3 separate regions of the Homo sapiens genome follow, and regions 2 and 3 are each linked to region 1. Evidence: promoter capture Hi-C in 16 types of primary human blood cells and fetal thymus (Javierre and others, 2016). All regions are on one chromosome and are shown on one strand. The core of a region is centred on a gene start or on the middle of the fragment in contact, and the rest is flanking DNA. Distances in the headings are between cores, read along the strand shown. Region 1 holds the start of EXO1 (exonuclease 1). Region 2 overlaps KMO (kynurenine 3-monooxygenase). Region 3 overlaps FH (fumarate hydratase).

The links. The method cuts DNA at HindIII sites, captures the fragments that hold promoters and counts their contacts. A CHiCAGO score of 5 or more calls a contact.
Region 2: a contact is called between a fragment that was not itself captured here and the fragment with the promoter of EXO1 in region 1, in 7 of 17 cell types (activated CD4 T cells, naive B cells, non-activated CD4 T cells and 4 more). The highest score is 8.7, in activated CD4 T cells.
Region 3: a contact is called between a fragment that was not itself captured here and the fragment with the promoter of EXO1 in region 1, in 2 of 17 cell types (neutrophils and monocytes). The highest score is 5.9, in neutrophils.

Annotation. Positions count from the first base shown.
Region 1 is chr1:241,845,814-241,849,494 of GRCh38, forward strand. It overlaps EXO1 (exonuclease 1), which reads left to right and starts at 2,391. Exons shown (of 16, transcript NM_130398.4): 1 at 2,391-2,540; 2 at 2,918-3,214; 3 at 3,299-3,403. RefSeq lists an enhancer at 2,087-2,426. The HindIII fragment of the contact is 5,044 bases long and covers 1-3,681 here.
Region 2 is chr1:241,553,035-241,556,947 of GRCh38, forward strand. It overlaps KMO (kynurenine 3-monooxygenase), which reads left to right. Exons shown (of 15, transcript NM_003679.5): 5 at 2,578-2,626. Among named protein-coding and RNA genes, the nearest start is that of KMO, 23 kb to the left of the region's middle. The HindIII fragment of the contact is 1,781 bases long and covers 684-2,464 here.
Region 3 is chr1:241,498,870-241,501,901 of GRCh38, forward strand. It overlaps FH (fumarate hydratase), which reads right to left. Exons shown (of 10, transcript NM_000143.4): 9 at 1,568-1,721. Among named protein-coding and RNA genes, the nearest start is that of FH, 19 kb to the right of the region's middle. The HindIII fragment of the contact is 3,610 bases long and covers 1-3,032 here.

The DNA.
Region 1 (3,681 bases), core at 1,141-3,640:
GCAGGAGAATCGCTTGAACCCAGGAGGCAGAGGTTGCAGTGAGCCGAGATCGCACCATTGCACTCCAGCCTGGGCAACAGGAGCGAAACTCTGTCTTAAAAAAAAATAAAAATAAAAATAAAAAATAAAAAAATAAAGATAAGAGCAGCCCAGAAAACCCATAATAATAGTGCCATACCTAGGACATTCATGTATTAGTCCACACATTTGAAATGTTTAAAATCAACACTAGTGCTACTGGGATGTGAAAATTCATAGACATAATCCCTGCCCTCAAAGTAAGGTTGCCAGATAAAATTACAGAATGCCAAGATAAATTTAAATTTCAGATAAACAGGGATTTCTTTTAGTATATGTCTCAAATATTGCATTAGATATATTAAAAATTTATCTGTTGTTCATCTGAAATTCAAATTTCTGGGTGTCCTACGTTATTATTTGCTAAATCTGGCAACCCTACCTCAAAAGGTTTTCAGTCTATTGAAGGGCAAAGACAATTCAAACACAATGAGAATATGAGAAGTGTCAGGACCAAAGAGCCATCACAGAATGCTTGTGCATATCAAACAAATATCTAACTTAGGGAAGACATTTGGAAACTGGTAACATTGGAACTGAGTCTTAAGCTGGAAACATATGGGATATACCATTTATTTCAGCATTTAATAACATGCCATCATGATTTGTGACTTAACTGTCTCATAAACATGTGTTTTGTCTACAGAACTAGATCTTAAGTTCCTTGAAGACACAGGACATCTCTTTATGCCTCCATGCCACCTGGAACTGACAGGCACACTTAAGGCAGTAGTAAATTACTGCACACATTGATGCAAATGGTTTTGTCCTCCCAAAGAGTAAAAATATTCTGTTAGTGAAATGTATTGTAACTAGTGTTTTCTTTTCCAATTTTAGTCTTTGAACACTGCAGCCAAGAATACAGTTTGAAACCTTGGGAGTCAAATTCACAGTAAATACATGAGCCGTTCACAGTGCAGCAAACTCTCATGTTAGTTTTATGACAGATCCAGTGACACTGGAATGGACACCTTTTTGATTTTGGGGTTCCTTCCTAAGACCCCCATGTGTGATATATTCATGGTTGGATTCTAGGTACTGAAGCAGTTACTACAGCTGGATAGTCCAATGAGTGTAAGAAGGCTTCTCTACAAACACATGCTGCCCACATCGAAGTTCCTCTTTAATCTACTGCAGTTTGAAATTGTCCCCCACTTTCTCCAAGAGTCCACTCCAAGCTAGTTTAGGGTTAGGTCTACCATAGCCTTTGGAAGAGGGAGGGAAGATAACTTTTCTCATCTCTCCTAGTCCCAGCTCTAAAGACCAGAACCAGGGAGAAAGCAACACAGCTTTTCCAAACACATTCCCCAAATGTGGCACCTTTTCAACAATTTTAGTAACAAATTTAAGGCATCATAGATGCCTTTAAAATTGGCATGATAGATGTTAGAGTGATCATAAAAAGACTTTAAAAGAGGAAAAGATGTAAAGAACGTAATCAAATGGGGAGCATGTTTAACAATGTGCTCACTTCTTCCCCTTCAATTCCTTGAATTGAGTCTGCATTATCATTCCTATTGATCTTTGAGCCCAGAACATTACTTTGTGGTCTGGCCTAAGGTTTCTTCCAATTTTTTAAATTACAATATCCCTAAGAGGACAGCGACGAGGTCTGGGGTGTTATGAGGATTGGAAACCTAGCCACAAGTGACCATGAAAGTCCAAAATGCCTCTAAAGTCTTTGTCTCTAAGGCCCATTTTCAAGGTCTTGTTATATAGCTAATTTTTCCCCGACTTATGTCAAAAATAAACGAAGCTGGGTTCTAGGTAAAATGGTAGGGGCAGATTTTAATCACTACTACTACTGCAATGGGGAAAAGAACCCAGCGTGAACTGAATTCAATTTCGATTTGTAGAGGCAACCGGGCGTTTTAAAGAGAATGAAGGAATTAGGATGGGACTGATGACGCCGAGGGGGACTGAGCAACTTTTTCAGGTTTGAAAAGCCTCAACATCAACGCGCGACGGCGCTCTTTCAACATCAGCCTCCAGAACTGGGGCTGCAGCCAGGAGGGAACTACAACGCCCAGCAGCCCCGGCGGGTGTAAACACTCCCAACTTCCGAGGCGGTGCTCACCATCGGCCATCAGCGCCAGTGCCACTCGCGCCCTCAAGAAGCCGCACGGAGTTCGGGCCGGCAGCAGCGGCTGCAGTCGTATGGCAGTGAGCCGCTGTCTACCCAGCGAGACGGAGAGCTCAGGACGCAACCCTATGAGTTGGAAGCCGCAGGAGGCGGAACCGGGTTGCGGGATACGCGTTGACGTCACATCCTCTGGGCGGGGCCGCAAGGAACCCGCGCAAATTGAAAGGTCAGCCTTTCGCGCGCTGTGTAGGCAAGTTACCCGTGTTCTGCGTTGCCGGCCGTGGGTGCTCTGGCCACAGTGAGTTAGGGGCGTCGGAGCGGGTTTCTCCAACCGCAATCGGCTCCGCTCAAGGGGAGGAGGAGAGTCCCTTCTCGGAAGGTGAGAGGAGCGGGCTGTGCGGAGGCTAATGGGTGGGTTCCCTTGGGGGTCGACCTGCGCGTCACCTCCGACCCTCCTCTCGGGATTCGGGTCTTCCAGGAAGGGAAGGAGAGGGTCTGGCGTGATCTTCCCAACCCAACAGCGGAGCCCTTAGCCTGAGTGGAGTATGTGTTTTGTTCCGAGGGGACGTCTGGCAACCAGAGGTCTGCAGTTCAGTGAACGGAGGGAGATAAGAGAGCAGACGATTCCGGGCTGGAGCAGGCGCCAGGGTTGCCAGACTTACCTCATTTTTCCGCAGAAGCTGGCAGTCCAGGTTTTACATGCAATCTCTCCACCTTTAAATGTTGACAAGTACATTTTCCCATAATATTTTGCAGGCCTAAGGAAACGTGTCGTCTGGAATGGGCTTGGGGGCCACGCCTGCACATCTCCGCGAGACAGAGGGATAAAGTGAAGATGGTGCTGTTATTGTTACCTCGAGTGCCACATGCGACCTCTGAGATATGTACACAGTCATTCTTACTATCGCACTCAGCCATTCTTACTACGCTAAAGAAGAAATAATTATTCGAGGATATTTGCCTGGCCCAGAAGAAACTTATGTAAATTTCATGAACTATTATATCCGTTTTCCTCGGAGTGAGAGAAAACTCTTTTTAGATATCATCTGAGAGGTAAGAGACTGTTTTTCTGAAACTGTGGCTTGAGGACCACCTGCATCCAGATTAACTGCTTTGTTTAAAATTCATTCACAGCAGAACTAGTGAATCCCAGTCACTGAGTGGAGTTGAGAGTCTAAGAACCTCTGAAATTTGAGAACTGCTGGACCAGAGCCTTTAGAGCTCTGATAAGGTGTCAACAGGGTAAAGCTGCCTCCTGATCCTGTACTTTCTTTCTTCCTTTCCTTCCAAACTTAACGTTTGATAGGAGAGATTTGTATTATGAAATGCTAAGCAACTGCTCAGTGCCCATTACTGACTTTTTATTGTAGAGTGGGGGGAGGTCGTTTCATCAGAAAGGGTTGTGACAGTTCCAGAATCTCTGTATAGAAAGGGCTTAGGGGGCTGCAACCGGAATGGAAGGGGGTGGAAAGTTAAAGCATTTGTCTTGAAGCTGTATTTGCATAGCAGACGCAGTTTCA
Region 2 (3,913 bases), core at 324-2,823, 290 kb before region 1:
AACTTTTTTTCTAATATGTCTGAGGTAGTCAGTACTACAACTAATGTCTTACAGATCTCCAAAGGATATATCTAACCTTTTTTAGGTTTTACTATTATCTTTTTGGTTACAGAGGCCACTTTATAGCGCTTGACTTGTTTATTCTTATTTATTCTTCATCAGATCAATCTTGTAGAATTAAATATTGGAGAAGTAAGACTTGATGGGAACGACTCAAATATTTGGTTATGATATAATACTGTCCAAAGATATGGAGTAGACTAGAAAGGGACATTCTGGTGTTCCTGCAGGGATGACAAGTCTATCAGTTCCCAGATGACTGATGTGGAAAGAAAATATTTTCCCCATGTAAATTAATCTTCATAATTTGGGCCAAGCACAGTGGCTGACACCTGTAATCCCAGAACTTTGGGAGGCCAAGGTAGGTGGATTGCTTGAGCCCAGGAGTTCAAAACCAGCCTGGGCAACATGGCAAGACCCTGTTTCTATAAAAAAATTTAAAAATTAGCCGGGCATGGTGGCATGGGCCTGTACTCCCAGCAACTTGGGAGACTTAAGGTGGGAAGATCGCTTGAGCCCGGGAGGTTGAGGCTGCAGTGAGCCATGATCACACCACTACACTCCAGCCTGGGGAACAGCAAGACCCTGTCTCAAAAATTTTTTAAAAAATTAAAAATTAAAAAAGCTTTATAATTTGAATGTTTCCTAACATAATTTAAATAGCAAGTTTGATTTCTGTTGAAATACAGTCTATTAATAACCTAGCTTTGAGGCAGAGAATGAAGATGTTTCTGTTCATTTTAAATTATACAAAGACCAGAATTTCCTCTTCAGTCATTGCCACTGACCAAGTTATTTTTACACCAAGTATAGATTTAGCTGCCAATGTATACTTCTACTTTTGGATGAGGTGAAGATTTATAAATTAGTGTATATGTGTTAAAAATATTTGTTATGTCCCATAATTTGGAAAATTATATGCTTTAAAGTTTTAAAGAATAGATTCACCCTGAATTACCAGCTTGCATTATGACTTTAATGGGCCCCAGGTGGGCACTTTGGCCTCCATGGGCTCCTTTTCTAGAAAAAGGATAAATATTAAAAATTAGATTTTATGGGTTCATTGGTATAAAGATTAATAAAATCCAGGCCAGATTTATTATTACATATTTTTTATTACATAATACTTTTCTTTCCTTCCTTCCTTCCTTCCTTCCTTCCTTCCTTCCTTCCTTCCTTCCTTCCTTCCTCCCTTCTTTCTTTCTAGACAGAGTCTCACTCACTCTGTCATCCAGGCTGAAGTGCAGTAATGTGATCTCGGCTCACTGCAACTTAGGCCTCTCGGGTTCAAGCAGTCCTGCCTCAGCTTCCTGTGACTACAGGCACGCGCCACCAGACCCGGCTTGTTTTTGTATTTTTAGTAGAGACGGGGTTTCGCCATGTTGGCCAGGCTGGTCTTAAACTCCTGACCTCAAGTGATCAGCTTGCCTCAGCCTCACAAAGTGCTGGGATTACAGGGATAAGCCACCATGCCTGGCCACTTTTTTCCTCCTGATTTAAAAATAAACTAAAATCAAAACATTTTTACAATACGTTTAAGAGTCCATAAAAATGTTTTGATTTTAGTTTATTTTTAAGTCAGGAGGAAAAAAGTGGCCGGGCGCTGTGGCTCATCCCTGTAATCCCAGCACTTTGGGTGGCCAAGGTCGGTGGATCACCTGAGGTTAGAAGTTCGAGACCAGGCTGGCCAACATGGCAAAACCCCATTTCTACTAAAAATACAAAAAAAAAAAAAAAATTAGCTGAGTGTGGTGGCAGGCACCTGTAATCCCAGCTAGTTGGGAAGCTGAGGCAGGAGAATCACTTGAACCTGGAAGGTGGAGGTTGCAGTGAGCTGAGATCTCACCATTGCACTCCAACCTGGGCAACAGAGCAAGACTCTGTTTCAAAAAAAAAAAAAAGTATTGTACGCCCATAGGCGCTGTGTCTACCTTGCCTCAAGGGAGGGTCAGCTTTGCTGAATTGTCCTATAAAGTCAGAAACAACCAACACATGTTCCATGCAAGGACTGGTCCTATTCCTATCAATCTTCATCCCTGCCACAACCAACACACACACACACGCGTGCACACACACACACTTTTTACATTGAAATGAAATCCTTCAAAGTTGTCTCTTCAGGAAATAGCACTTTGATTCTAGTGATACTGTCATGACTGAAGTTTTTCTAAGAGCTAAATTTGGAGACCTAAGCTGAAAATATTACATTTATGATTTGTTTTTAAAACAGAACTCTCTTGATGAAAATTATATTTTAGCTACAAGAGAAGGATTTGATTTTTAAAGTATTAAACTTTGAAAAAGCCTAAGTGTAAACTTGGATATTGTATTATATGTGTTTGTTTAAAGTGATCTTTTTTAACAAAAAAATCAAAGGTCACTTAGCGAAATGGTTATAAAACTAAGCTTGCAACCCTCTGCTAAATAATAAATATGTTTTATTGCTGAGTGAATAACTTAGAATTATATTTGTCCATTCACCAGAAACAAACAGTATCTACTCTACTTTTCTTGCAGTATATTCTTTCTGTAAGCAGAGAAAATCTAAACAAGGATCTATTGACTGGTAAGTCTAATGTTTGATTCATCAGTTGTCATTTTGAGTAAAGCACATGACACTAATCTTGTCATATGATTTATTGGATTTGTTTGCTGCTCCTTTTTATGGGTTATGAAGAGCAAGACTATGTACACTACAAAGTCCTTCTTGAAGCTAGGTCTGATAGCTCATGCCTGTAATCCCAGCACTCTGAAAGGCTGAGGCCAGGATCGCTTGAGTCCAGGAATTTGAGACCCGCCTGGGCAACATGGAGAGACGCTATCACTACAAAGAATAAAAAATTAGCTGGGTGTAGAAGCGTGTACCTATAGTCCCAGCTACTCAAGAGCCTGAGGTGGAAGGATCACTTGAGCCAGGGAGGTCGAGGCTACAGTGAGATATGAGTGATGTGATTGTGCCACTGCACTCCCAGCCTGGGCAACAGAGTGAGACCCTGTCTCAAAAAAAGAAATAAATAAATGAAGTCCTTCTTGAAAATATCAATTGCCTAAAGTTTTTAGAGACGAAGTCTTGCTGTCACCCAGACTGATGTGCCATGGTGCAATCATGGCTCACTGTAACTTCGAAATCCTGTGCTCAAGCTATCTTCCCACCTTGGCCACCCGAGAAGCTGGGACTACAGGCACATGCTACCACATACGACCAATTTTTTTACATTTTTTTTAAAGGCAGAGTCTTTCTATGTTGTCCAGGTTGGTCTTGAACTCCTGGCTCAAGTGATTCTCCCACCTCAGACTCCAGAGTAGCTGGGATTACAGGTGCTAGCACCCACTTCACTGACAATTCTCTGAATTGAAATCATTTGTTCAACATATACTGAATCCCTATGGTCTCCTAGGCACTGAGTGAATGAGTGTTCACGCTGATGAAGAACTCACACTCTAATGGAACGACAGATAAACTCAAACAATTTGCAAAGTGACACAATTAGATTTGCCTTTTGGGCCAGGCGTGGTGGCTCACGCCTGTAATCCCAGCACATTGGGAGGCCGAGGCAGGCGGATCACAAGGTCAGGAGTTTGAGACCAGCCTGGCCAATATGGTGAAACCCTGTATCTACTAAAAATACAAAAAGAAAAAAAAAATTAGCTGAGCGTGGTGGCACATGCCGGTAATCCCAGCTACTCGGGAGGCTGAGGCAGGAGAATTGCTTGAACCCAGGAGGCGGAGGTTGCAGTGAGCCGAGATCATGCCACTGCCCTCCAGCCTGGCTGACAGAGCGAGACTCAGTCCCAATAAAATAATAATAATAATAATAATAATAAAGATTTGTCTTTTAGAGAGATGAAAAGC
Region 3 (3,032 bases), core at 512-3,011, 350 kb before region 1:
AATATGCAATTATTAATCAGCTATAAAAGAAAGCATGGGCATAGTTACTTTTATTACTTAACTGAATTTGTGAATGCTAAATATGTTGAAAAGGGCATTTATTGATCTGAAAGGGCATTTATTGATGCCATTTACTGAAAAGGGCATCTTTCTTAAAGCAGAAATGCTTTGAGAAAGAATTTGCATGTTAAACTCTTGAGATCAATATATATCCAGTACTTTTATTTTAATAATGGCTTTAAAGTCTAAGCATTTCAGCTGTCAAGTCCAACAAGACACTATTGGCAACCAGCCTGGTACATAATGAGAATATAGGGAACCCATGATTCAGAGGGTTGTAAGGCTCACACCAAGTCAACTAGTGAGGTGGTGTTGACCCATCTCATTCTCATATGGCCTCTAACAATTCTTTTTATGTCACAATAAGTTGATTCCAATAAAGATTTGCCAATCATTCAACTTTAGGAGACACCTCTAATTTAAAGTTTTGGTAACACATTCTGAAGTAAAGATCTGATGAAAACTGCTCACACGAGCCTCTGGGTTCCCCTTTGTGTTTTTCCAGATGTAGTTGATGTACCATAATTTTAAATGGATCAAACATTATTACCAATCTCAATGCCACACCAAAAAACTGATATCATACTGGGCTCAGAGCTACCTAAAAGAGTCAAATGAGCTCTAATTTTAAAAAACTGTAATTATAGCTTGATGTGAAACCAGGAATATAAAATTTGCCTTGAAAGTTCAAGATTATAGAAGAAGCAGTAGCCATATTATGCCAAATAAGTGAATCATAACTTGTTCTATAACAGAAAGGCAGAAAATATATTAACCTCTGCTTAGCAGAAAGGAAGAATGGGTAAAAGGCTTTTAACACATCATAATATAATGCAACATAATGCCTCAAAATCTACAAAAGTGTAAACAGTTTATTTAATGGAGATCTCTATGGTCAGTCTACTACCCAAATCTGTATGTTTGATTCTACATAATGAAATATTTACAGTTCCAAAAAAGACTTATAATACAATAGCATGGTTTTAGACAAAATATTTGCATTTTCCTTCCTCCCTTTCACTATAAGCAATGAATACATAAACTTTTTCTTTTAATTGTAACTTTCCATTTCTGAATTGAATAAAACAACAAAATTAAAGCATTGTAGAGATCTAGGGAAGGTAGAAAAATGAGTTCATTCAATGTTGCTAATCAGCAGTGCCACCTAGTGACATTACCCACTGAAGGTCTTACAAATAACCTTCCCCAATGGTCTGCATAGAATATTTGGCGTCTGAATTCCATTAAAATCAAAATAAGTTTGAACTACTACTTCTCGATACATTTCAAATAAAATGAGGCATAATAGATCTAGTTTTGAAAGAACTATGACACCATACAAGTTATATAGTACCTTTCCACACAATTTCAAATATTTTGAGATTTTACTAAAACCATATTCAAAAGAAATTTGCTGTTCTCAAACACTGATCCACTTGTCTCTTAAAAATGGTTTAGCTTTTTAATTTTGCATTCAAAATGATATTATTATTCCTTAAACACTTACCTATATGAGGATTGAGAGCTGTCACCAACATTAGAGACTCATTCATCAGCTTGTTGATCCTTTCTGTATTGGCCTGGATTCCCACCACGCAGTTTTCTGTAAAGGAAACTGAAGCATCCCCCAGCAGCCTGGCTGAGTGTAACACATTTTTAATCTTTGAGTGAGTGAGAGAGAGAGAGAGAGAGAGAGAGAGAGAGAGAGAGACATTACTAAGGCAACATGTTTTTTGTCCAATAACATATTATTTTCTGGTTGACAGTAAATATACAATTCAATAAACATATAGATCTTCTACAAATTTTAAGGCACTATAACCAAGGAAACAAATGTGAAAGAAAGCATGAACATTTGAAGGCACAGAAATCTAAAAAAGGTGAAAAAGACATAAATACAAATGACTAAAACACAAAATAGCCCATAGCAAGTATTTAAAACAGAGGTCTGAAGTGTTAGAGACCATAGAGAAAGAGAAATTAACTCCAGTTGTCGGAACTGGTGAAATCCTATTTTATGGAGAGGACTTGGCCAGAGAAGGAAAAAGAATCTTCCACGCAGAAGGAAGAGGAGCAAAGATGCAGAGGTTCGAAAGTTCAGTATGAGTGTGAGGCAATTAGTAAAGTCAGGGCAAAATCTAATGATCACCAAATTTCTAGGTTTTCTATGCTTTAACGAATACTCCAGTCACTGTAAAATAACTTTTCATATAATATTAAAAAACAGTATAAAATCAATTAGTTTGTTTTGGCTTTGTTGGCAACATTTCCAATATTTATTAAGATATATCCAAATCCTAATATCCTCTGGTCTAAAACTCCGGTCTGAAAACTAGACTTCCAACAATGGACTCTAAGACATATAATCTAAGTTTTAATTTGCTACTAATGACCTTGTAATAAGGCAAATATTGATTATCTTTATTTTACATTAAAAATAAAATTTTAAAAAGATTAACAAGGCATTTATTGTTATGCACCTATAAATGCTGGGTATCTCGTGTTAACTGTTTGGAATCTGACCTGAGAGCAAAATTTTAACAGTCTGAGTTCTGCTCTGGCCTGTGTTTTTATTTACCACTAGGATATACATTCCATGAGAGCAAGAAATCTGTCTTTTCATTGCTCTATCTCTATTATGCATCCAGTACAGTGCCTGATAGAAAATGGTACTCAATAAATATTTAGTGAATATATTAAATATACTCCATATTTGTCATTTGCATATTCTTATAAAATTAAAATTAGAATTTAGAAGAGATTCCAAGAGAAAGTAAGCCCCTACTCTACTTTAGCTATAACACTTTGTCCAAATGAAGGACTCTAAATTATGGCAACAGCTCCACTATCTGCAGCTGAGGAAACTGATGAGAAATGGCGCGATGCATCTATCGATCTTCGTAAAGACGAAAGAAAAAGAACGGTTTGGGTGGACACAATGTTTTCAAGTATGTGGAAAGGTAAAGCCAGAC